Regions from separate parts of the Homo sapiens genome. Here region 1 is linked to region 2. The links are contacts of gene promoters, found by promoter capture Hi-C in blood cells and fetal thymus (Javierre and others, 2016). All regions are on one chromosome and are shown on one strand. The core of a region is centred on a gene start or on the middle of the fragment in contact, and the rest is flanking DNA. Distances in the headings are between cores, read along the strand shown. Region 1 has its middle 15 kb from the start of RNASE10. Region 2 holds the start of TPPP2 (tubulin polymerization promoting protein family member 2).

Region 1 (5,728 bases), core at 2,089-4,588, 540 kb after region 2:
TACAGGTGGGCACCACCATATCCAGCTAATGTTTTAATTTTTTGTAGAGATGTAGAGATGGGGTTGCCCAACCTATTAGACCCTTTTTATTATTCCCAGCCCCCATAGGTCCCTATAAATATTTGTTAAGATATAGTTGTAACTTAGCAAATGTATCTGGGGGACCATGTCCAAAAAAACCAGATGGACACCCAGAAAGGGTTTCAGGAGGTGGAGGCTGCACAATTATCCAAGATACATTGGATCCTATCCACAACTTACAGGTGCAAACTTGATCTTATCTGAGTTTTTCAGTTTCTTTTTTTTTGAGATGGAGTCTCACTCTTGTCGCCCAGGCTGGAGTGCAGTGGCGTGATCTCGGCTCACTGCAACCACCACCTCCCGAGTTCAAGCTTCTCCTGCCTCAGCCTCCCAAGTAGCTGGGATTACAGGCACCCGCCACCACACCTGGCTAATTTTTGTATTTTTAGTAGACATGGGGTTTCACCATTTTGGCCAGGGTCATCTTGAACTCCTGACCTCAGGTGATCTGCCTGCCTCAGCCTCCCAAAGTGCTGGGATTACAGGCATGAACCACTGTGTCCAGCGCATTTTTCAGTTTCATGCGAGTTACTCACACCAACCAATCCCCAGTTAAAACTATGAACAAGATCTACATTGAAAAATATGTGCAGTGAAAATAAACCTGCCCCATACATTCTCTCCCTGACTCAAGTGGGAGACCAAACCTCAAAGAGATGATTGCTTGGTGAGCATCAGTGGTCAGCAGCGTCACAGTTCCTTCGGGCCAGGATAAGCTTGGGAAAATGTTTCTGACTTGAAATTAAGAAGTGAGCTAGTGTGTTACTCCTGGACAATGATGGTTTAGTAGAAAGCAATTCTCAAAATTTAGAATTTCCCTTTCCAATTTCCAAACTCTCCTATCTCCTTCTTAAAATACATTAGCATGTTTGTTGATTTGTATTCTTTTATACTCCACCTCATTCCAAGATAGGATTAAAGTCAGCTTGCAAAACTGTCTGCAATAAATAATCACACAAATCAAATTTAGGTGAGAGAAAAGAGGCAGGATACAACTTGATTGATTATGCCATCACTGTATCGAGGCTAAAATCATTATGCTTCCTGAAGCCAGCATTTTGGTCCCCAGAGCTGAAGTGTGTGAGTCCTTAGCCCTAGGTGATAGATTAGAAGTTTGGATGGTTTAATTCTACAAATGGTGACTACTATTTACCAAATGCTGATTTGACCTGATGTAATTCTCAGGTGGTACTAATAATTTCAAGTGTTGAAGAAATTTTGCCATATAATATTTATACCTATGAATCACCACTTTATTTTCCCATTTGTACTAATAAAAATAAATAAATAAATGAAACTTACCAGAAAAGGTTTTTAGTAAGAATGAGATGACCACAATGGTTTGAATAGTTCAAACAAACTTAGTTTTAGTTAGCATGTTGTAGCTTTATTCGGAGTAAATGTGTGGTTTCCAGTAAGATGCCTGACATGTTAAAATTAGCTCACAGACTTTTTGACGCGTAGAAATAATCTTGAAAGGACAGCCAACAACCATAACGAGAAACAAAACAGAAACCACCTAAGTCAAGAAGGTAGACACAAATGCCCCTCAATTTGCAAATAGATATCTCCCCTGCACCAAGAATCACCCCATGGGAGGAGCAACTAAGTTAAAATTTCAGGATGAAAGGGTTTGCTTTCTCTTCATGAAACTGTGTCTAGTACTCTGGTCAGGTAATGATGATGATCAAGGTAATATTAGTGATCCAAGGAGCAGAGGCTTTTTCCATGCCAAGCCCATATACCCTGATAGGGCCACCAGGTGGACAAGCCAGTCCATCTGCACGATGCTCCTAAAGGGCGGGTCACAGAGCCAAAGAAAGGAATGACTCGCCAGAAGAAACTCTGCCTTTTCTGAACTTTTTTTTTTTTTTTTGAGACAGAGTCTCACTCTGTTGCCAGGATGGAGGGCAGTGGCGCGATCTCGGCTCACTGCAACCTCTGCCTCTTGGGTTCAAGCCATTCTTCCATTCTTCTGCCTCAACCTCCTTAGTAGCTGGGACTACAGGCATGTGCCACCATGCCCTGCTAATTTTTTTGTATTTTAGTGGAGACAGGGTTTCGCCATGTCAGCCAGGATGGTCTCGATCTCCTGACCTCATGATCCCCCCGCCTTGGCCGCCCAAAGCGCTGGGATTACAGACGTGAGCCACCATGCCTGGCCAGCACTATTTTGAGTTCACAGACTAAGTTCACTTGGGATGGCAGATACTGGCTGATATGGTTTGGTCGTGGTAGTGAATAAGTCTCACGAGATCTGATGGTTTTATCAGGGGTTTCCACTTTTGCATCTTCCTCATTCCCTCTTGCCTCCTCCAAGTAAGAAGTGCCTTTCACCCTCTGCCATGATTGTGAGACCTCCCCAGCCATGTGGAACTGTAAGTCAAATTAAACCACCTTTTCTTCCCAGTCTCTGATATGTCTTTATCAGCAACATGAAAACGGACTAATACACTGGCACAGAAGTTAGCACAGAAGAGTTGTCCGTTAAGGTTTGGTGAAAGAGACAGGAAAGGAGAGGAAAGGGAAGGAAGGAAATAGGGAAGAAGGGAGGGAGGGAGCCCTGAGCAATGCGTGGAGGTCAGCAGTTAAGATTAGCTCAGCAGGAAGGAAGCGTCCTGGGCTTCCGTGAGAGGTGACCTCTGACAGGCTTCCAGGTTCCTGTGCTCTTTGAGAGAGTCTTTCTTATCCCCTCACCCAGTATACAGGTACTTTGGCCTGGCCTGGCTGGCCAGATATGCAGTCGAGGTTTTACCTTCAAAGATGACAGCTAGAGAAATAAGAAAAGGGAAAGCATTCAGAATCCATTATAAGACGTACTGATAAGTAACACACATGCAGATCTTATGAATTAATGTGGATCTTCATAGGTAAGATCTTCATAATGGCAATGCTATTATGTAAGAGAATGTCCTTATTCTTAGAGATGCGTGCCAATATATTCAAAAATGGACTGATAGGCAAATTGTCTGCAGCAATTTACTTTCAAATGGCTCAGGAGAAAACAAATGTATGTAGCAGATTATTGACTATTGATGGTTTAGGTGAGAGGTACACTAGTGTTCATTACATGATCCTTTCTACTTTTCCGTAAACTTAACGATATTCCAAGTAAAAAGTTCAGGACAAATGGGCATTAGAAATTTTCTCTAAAATGTATAAAATCCATAGTAAGCACACCTAGCTGGTAACAGCGCTTGCTTATCTTGGCTGAGAGGATAAGGGGTTCTTCCTTGCTTTTTGGTGTGTGTGTGTGTGTGTGTGTGTATGTGTGTGTTTAAGGCCACAGCTAGGACCCTTCTTTCTGCCCCTCTGGCCTCTTTCACTGCACCAAACCACCTGCTCCTGGGCCCCAGCAAAGCAATCCCCCTATGAACAACATTTCTCAACAAGTGTTTCTGTGCCTGTTAGTAGCCCCACACGCTTCTTCCCCACAAACCCTTTCCTCATACACCATTGCCCACACAAAACACACCCCTTTCAAACTGCTGTTCTGGAACAAATGGCTTTCTTCTCTACTGAGTGCACCTCTGCCCAAGGCTTCCACCCACAAACGATTCTTTCTCTAAAGTTCCTGTGTAACCCTACCCCACCCATCCTCTCTGAATCATTGCCTCAATCCCCTGAGGTCTATCTTGCTGCAAATTGAATTCCTGCTGGTGTTGAGCCTGAAAATTTCTCAGTTTGCTAAGCTAAAGAGTTGCCCTTCCGTGATGGATGAAGCAGTGAATTGCTTCCACTTTTGTCTAGGATCGGGCACAGACCTTACTCTTTCTGCCCTAGCACCCCAGCTCCTCAGGTCCCACTTCAGTGGCATCAAGCAGAAGTGGACATGCATGGATAGATATATAATTATTGAAACATGAAAGCACAGTGTAACATCCCACCCTCCTTCTGTAGAACTAGAGTGTTGTGGAACTATAGTTGTTGCTATTCAGGTTTTTGCAGATAAAATATCTTGAAAAGAATTTTAGAGGTCATAAGGTCAACTATTTCTCTCTACAGCTTTGTCAAATATTCCTCTAGCCCCTATTTCAACATTTCAGGAATGTAACGTAACAATGTCTTTTTTGTAGAGCTCTTTTTCTAATATTGAGTGGGCTCTCCTGTCCTAGTCAACTCTCCAAAGTTGCACAGAGTAAATTTGATTCTTCTATATAAATAAGTTTAAAAATAATATAAGGCCAGGTACGTTGGCTCATGCCTGTAATCCCAATACTTTAGGAGGCCGAGGTGCTAGGATCACTTGAGGCCAGGAATTCGAGACCAGCCTGGGCAACATAGCAAGACTTTGTTTCTACAAAAAAAATTTTTTTTAATCAGCTGGGTGTGGTGATATGTGCCTGTAGTCCCAGCTACTCAGGAGTTTGAGGCAAGAGGATTGCTTGAGCCTTGGAGTTCAAGGATGCAGAGAGCTATGATCATACTAGTGCATTCCACAGAGCCTGGGTAACAGATCAAGATTCTATCTCTTAAAAAAATCATAATAATAATATTAATAGAAGACAGTTCTTCACTACCTCCTTTCATCTTCTGTTTACCACCAAACTTAACTACTCTCTGGCTTTTCATTCAACCTAAACGTGATGCCTTTTTACACATTCTCCATCCCCATCTCTTTATGTAGATCTAATGCTATGGTGACAAAAGTTCTGAGCCTGAAGGAATAGCTTAGCTATTCCTTTGCTGTGTGGTATTGGAAAAGTCAGATAACCTTTCTCTAAGCCTTTTTAAATCAGAAAAATGAAAATGAGAAAAATATCAATGATACTTGCTCAAGGGTCTCAGTAATTATCACAACTAAAAAGGACCAAAAAATGTAAAATATTTTGTAAACTATAAAGCACTATGTACATATTACCTGCTGTGAATATTCACATTAAAGGTCCAATCTCAGCATGAGTGTCTCCCTTCCTCCCAGCATAAATTAAGTCCTTCTATACTAGGTTTTTTTGGTAAAATTTAGCCACACACATTGGAATTCAGCATCAATGGCTTTTATGGAATGATAGTAAATTGCAGTGATTACTTTGAAAAAATAGTCTGTTCATAATGACAATGGTCCAGACTAATTTGTTTTATTGTTATTGTTTTGTCTTGTTTTTTAGAGAGGGATAGGGTCTCGCTTTATCACCCAAGCTGGAGAGCAGTGGCATGATCATTGCTCACTGTAACCTGGAGTTCCTGGGCTCAAGTGATCCTCCTGCCTCAGACTCCCAAGTAGCTGAGACTACAGGTGTGTGCCATCACAATCAGCTTGTAAATTTTTTTTTTTTTTTTTTTTTTTTTTTAGAAACAGGGTCTTGCTATGTTGCTCAGGTCGGTCTCAAACTCCTGGCCTCAAGTGATCCTCCCACCTCAGCCTCCCAAAGTGCTGGGATTACAGGCGTGAGCCACTGTGCCCGGCCCCCACCTGGCCTAGTTTGTTGTTTGTTTGTTTTTAATGCTTCGATATAACAGCTACATCTTCCTTCTGTACTAGCCATTCTTTTACACTCAATCAGCTTTACAGTTGCTCCCTCCCCTGCAGGGCTCATAGTCTGCCATGTTACCAGTTGTATTCCCAAGTCTGGAGCCTTTGGGGTCTCTAAGCAAGAATCTAGCACTGAGGCTCTGGGGAGGAAGGGCTGAACTTTCTTTAATATCT
Region 2 (5,163 bases), core at 1,968-4,467:
CCTCCCCATCCCCACCAGCCTTCTCATGTCAGCCTCCCCCAGTTCCCTTATAATTCCCTCCACTCACCCACCTACTCAGGGGATATGGCTAGCTATAGGAACCTCCCTGAGGCCCTCAGACTCATGTTAGCCTCACTTCCCCACAACCCCCAGTTTCCAGCCTGCTTCTCTCTGTGAAATCATGGTTTCTCCCTTCATATAACTGTCCTCTCCTGCTTCCTCTTACCATGGAGCCTAGGACTGTCTCCCCCACACTCCCAACAACCGTAGTCACCCTGCCTTCCTTTTTCCAACCTCTTTTTCTTCCAGTCTTCTTACCTTGGCTCACTGGCATTTCAAGGTATCTTCTCTCACCCATTCCCCAGAGGTTCCTGCTTCCCTTCTCTTCCAGAAGCTCCTCCCAAATCCCCCAGACTCCAGAGTCTGCCCCTGACCAGGCAGCGAATGAGGCAGGCCCGGCTCTAATCGAACATAAATTTCTAAAACCACATCTGAGTATGTAAGATGTAACCATTGGGGGAAACTGGGTGAAGGGCACACGAGCCCCCTCTGTACCATTTTTTGTAACTTCCTGTCAACCCATAATCAATTCAAAATAAAAAGTTAATAACACACATCTGACTCTGTTGTGATTTAATTGCTTTTTCTTCAGTGCACCAGAACTCCTGCTCTTGGAATCCTGGCAGCCTGCCTCATCTGGCCATCTTCCTGAGCTACCCTTAGCAGTCAGTAAGCTCTTCTGTCCCATGTGCCCCATGATGGAGGTGATGTGGGGTAAAACTTAGTTCTGGGCTGGGTGTTGAAAATAGACTCTCCCCTTACCCCAGCTCTGGAACAAATTTGTAATAGAAGTCAGGCAACCTTAGCTGGCTTCTACTCCTCCACCCAAAAAACCTGAATTGCAACAGATGAGGAAGGTGGAGGGACAGGGAAGGATCTAATATGTGATATAGTCATAGTCCATCACGTGAGGAATTGCTACACCCTTTTGAGGGGTGGGGGTGGAGAGGTGGATATCAGTAATGTGTGAACACAAGTAGTAGATACTTTTACCTCCACATCTGGTTCATCTCTTTACTCCAAATATATTCTTCCATCCTGTTCTTGGAAGCAGCTGTTGAGGAGGAATGCTAACTGATGGCTGGTAGGCATAAGGCTAAGCAGAGCGAAGGGTGTGTGGTGGAGAACCCACCCTCCTGTGCTGCCTCTTCTCCCTCTCTCTACACTAGTAGGCTCATCTGTCCCTCACAGACAGAGATTTTGGCTGCTGCACACACAGATGTTTATTGTTTTCCAAGCTCCCTGGTGTTAAACATGCAGGGTCAGGGGGCTAGCAGGCTGAGATGAAGCTCCTCTCTACTTGGTCTTCTTATCGTAGGTGCCAGAACCCTTGTAACCACTCACATAGCCTGTGTTGTCAGTCATCTCTTCCCGTCCCGCAATGCCCTTGCCCTTGCCACTCTCATCAAAGCGCTCCTTGTGGGTGCCGGTGTACTTGCTGGTGTCTGTCAAACGGTCCACTGCACCCACTGTTGTTGCTTTCTGCAAGCCAGGGATGGATTTGAGCTCTCTTCCTTTCCTTACGCTGTCATATCCCTTCCCCAAAGATGGCCCGAGATACTTAGAACAAGTGCTTGGAGCTCTTGCTCTGCCACTGGCATGGGGTGCTGCTTTCTTAGGGCCCAGATACAGCTGTGGGCAGGTACTCTGGTAAGAGCCGTTCACTCATGGGGGAGGAGGAGTGTGGTGTGGGAATGAGTGTGGCGTGTGCAGAGGGAGGGTAGGTTTTTTGTTTCCAGAGGAGTTATTCTGACTAGGCTGCTGCCTGAGGACTTCACTCCCACTCCCCGACTCAATATCCACTGTAGAAAGAGCTTTTAGTTCAGACAGGACAATTAAAAAAGGGAGTAGGTGAGAGGCAGGAGGCCTGAGATTAAACCCTAAATAAGAATTGGAAGAGGAGTGGGCATCAGGTACCAAATTCTCTACACTAATGTCCTCCAAAAGCTACCAAGCCCTAATTGCCTGGCTCAGATACTAGACACTTGGAAATTAGTCTAAATCTACTATTAAAATAGCCATGGACCTTGGGCAAGTCACTTCCCTTCTCTGGGCCACATTTTCCTGACTTCTGGAATGTCTAGATGATCTCTAAAGTCTGTTTCGGCCCTGTCTCTACAGTCACACAGTTGGCAGGGTTAGGGAGGGTAGACTGGAACAATGGGGATTTAGGGAAGTAGGGTCAAGGGGATGAAGGCTGTCACTCACAGTAGCGCCAGTGGTGGCTGGGTCTTTGCCCTCCATGAGTCCATAAATGTTCTCCAGGACTTCATCTGGACTCTTCCCTTTGAAGCGCTTCTGGCCCAGTTCCTTCACTGCCTCTTTGAACTGTTGAAACGTGATGGTTCGGGCGTTCTTGGCCCTGGTCAGTTAGACAGAAATCCAGAAACTTTGGAGCATGAATGCATTACCTTCCAAGGTCCAACTCTTGCCTCACTCAGATTTGGCCTCTTTTGTCCTATCAATCAGTGAGTGTCTCGAAGACAAAGGATAGCACAGCGCCAGGTACCCTGTGGTGCTTGGTAGGCCCACTGCAAATGTTCCACCACGTGAACCCTTCCGTGGCCAACTACCTCGCAGGTTCTTCTCACCCCCACCTCCATATTTTTGGCTCCTCACTTGACTTTGCTGAACACGATGTCCACGTCCGTGGAGGTGACTGTCTTGCCATCCATGATGCCACAGTCTTTGCACAGCTTGGAGAAGTTCTTGTTGTTCATTTCAGTGCCACTGCTTGATGATTCTCCAAACGCAGCAAACCGATGGAATGTTTTTTCTGCCTCTGATGCCATGGTCAGCTAGAGGTCGGGGAGGGCAGTCGTGGGAGACACTTGGGGGTGAAGGAGAAGGGGGAGGGAGGACTGTGGAGTAATGAGGATGAGTGTTATGGTAAAATCAGTCAGCAACAGGAACAGCTCCCCTCTTCCCTGTTGCTCTCTCCTTTCTCCCTCCCAGCTCCCATTGCACCTACGCAACTACAGCATGAGTCTCCCATTCCCAGCATTGGAGATACCAGTGTGGATCCTACCTACTGAATGATCCTCTCTTTCCCCTACCTCTTTTATGTACCTTAGAGTACCCGGATGGTGGTCTGACCCTTCCCGGCCTTTGTATTTAAGTGTGTGCAGATATGTGGGAGCCGGTTGGCTGTGGCAATGAGGAGACAGAGGGAGGAGAGGGAAGATTCTATGACCTCAGCAGTGGTTATGTGACATCACTTCTGGCCCCAGCTACAGCCATTGCCTTCAAAGGAGGGGGCTTTTGGTCTCCCTACCTTGCATGCCGAATTGAGCAAACTGCCAACTTTCTGACCTTTTCAGATGATCACATTTCCATCATTTCAGCCAAGCTTACCCATCCTCTGGGTCCTAGTCAAATTGCCTTATGCTCTGCCCCACAACAGAAGCTGAGGCGAGCCCAGGGAAGGTGTTGTAGTCTGTTTGGGCTGCTAGAACAAAATATCAAACTGGGTGGCTTATAAACAACAGACATTTATTTCTCAGAGCTCTGAAGGCTGAGAAGTCTAAGATCAAGGTGCTGGCAGATTCAGTGTTTGGTGAGGGCTGCTTTCCGGTCCATAGATGGCACCTTCTTGCTGTGTCCTCACATGGTAGAAGGGGTGAATGAGTTCCCTTGGGCCTATTTATAAGGGTATGAATCCCATTCAGAAAGGCTCTGCCCTCATAAAACTTAATCACCCCCCAAAATGCCCCATCTCCTAATACCATGACTTTGGGAGTTAGGATTTTATTTTATTTATTTGCGTATTTATTTTGAGATGGAGTCTCGCTGTCTGTTGCCCAGGCTGAAATGCAGTGGCATGATCCTGGGGCACTGCAACCTCCAGTCCCAGGATTCAAGCGACTCTCATGCCTCAGCCTCCCCAGTAGCTGGGATTAGCCCAGCCACTATGCCTGGCTAATTTTTGCATTTTTAGTAGAGACGGGGTTTTGCCATGTTGGCCAGGCTGGTTTCGAACTCCTGACCTCAAGTGATCCACCTGCCTCAGCCTCCCAAAGTGCTGGGATTACAGGTGTGACCCACTGCGTCCAGCCGGGAGTTAGGATTTTAATATATGAATCTGTGGACAACATAAACATTCAGACCACAGCAGTTAATGAAAACGGATTAATGAAAACAGGCTGTCATGTTTTCTAGTCTCCAGGCTCAAGTGTAGCATGGAGAATCCCACTGGCTTTAAAAGGCCAGTCGCAATAGAAACATTAAATAGCTTCCAGTGTTGGGCCCAGCAAGCCTTGGAGTATAACAGATGTGGACAGGTCAGGATAAAACTGGGATAGACTGAGGGTGAGGCTCAGATTCTGAAAATCTTCAGATAAGTTTCTATGCAGGTCAAAGATGTTCCTCAGGGTTTTCTCTCTTCGGCCTTTTCTCTGGCCAGAAGCACTACAGATAGATGAACCTCACGGATCCTAAAACAGAGCAACGAGACTGGTGACTTTCCTCCTTTTCCCATCTAATAATGCCACCACTTTCTATTTTTTTTCTTTGTCTTACAAATCTATGCCTTTCTTTCCATTCCTATTGCTTCCACCCTTATTCAAGTTCTTATCATCTCATAGTTGGATGACTACTCTGGTTTCTAAATGATCTCTTTTCTAAATCTAATTCTTCACTCCCACCCACCCATAATCCATCTCTATTACCTCCTCCCCATCAGATTAATTTTCACAAAACAGTATTTTTTATTACTCCTGCTCAAGAATATTCTGTGGCTCAAGATATACTATAGCTTCTCATTGCTAAATCTTTTTGCTTAGCATTCAAGGACCTATACAACTAACTAGGCCCCAATCTACCCTACCAAACATCACCCACCTCTCATCAACATTATTCTTGGGCAGGGCACAGTGGCTCATGCCTATAATTCCAGCACTTTGGGAGGCCAACAAAGTGAGACCTTGTCTCTAGATAAATAAATAATAATAAAAAAATTAGTTGGGAGTGGTGGCATGCACCTGTAGTCCCAGCTACTGAGGAGGCTGAAGTGGGAGGATTGCTTGAGCCCGGGAGTTTGGGGCTGCAGTGAACTAGGATTGTGTCAGCGCACTCCCACCTGGCTGACAGAGAGACCCCATCTCA

What was found. Contacts are between HindIII fragments. The CHiCAGO score rates a contact against its expected background, and 5 or more counts as called.
Region 1: a fragment that was not itself captured here is called in contact with the fragment with the promoter of TPPP2 in region 2 in 2 of 17 cell types (M2 macrophages and monocytes); the score reaches 7.4 in M2 macrophages.

What each region holds. Positions count from the first base shown.
Region 1 is chr14:20,487,672-20,493,399 of GRCh38, reverse strand. No RefSeq gene overlaps it. Among named protein-coding and RNA genes, the nearest start is that of RNASE10, 15 kb to the left of the region's middle. RefSeq lists an enhancer at 1,630-1,729. The HindIII fragment of the contact is 5,077 bases long and covers 800-5,728 here.
Region 2 is chr14:21,028,271-21,033,433 of GRCh38, reverse strand. It overlaps TPPP2 (tubulin polymerization promoting protein family member 2), which reads right to left and starts at 3,217. Exons shown (of 4, transcript NM_173846.5): 1 at 3,130-3,217; 2 at 2,680-2,921; 3 at 2,269-2,422; 4 at 619-1,542. The coding sequence starts at 2,852. The coding sequence ends at 1,357. RNASE13 (ribonuclease A family member 13 (inactive)) reads left to right here. Exons shown (of 2, transcript NM_001012264.4): 2 at 1-616. It also overlaps a transcript of NDRG2 not described here. The HindIII fragment of the contact is 5,962 bases long and covers 1-3,411 here.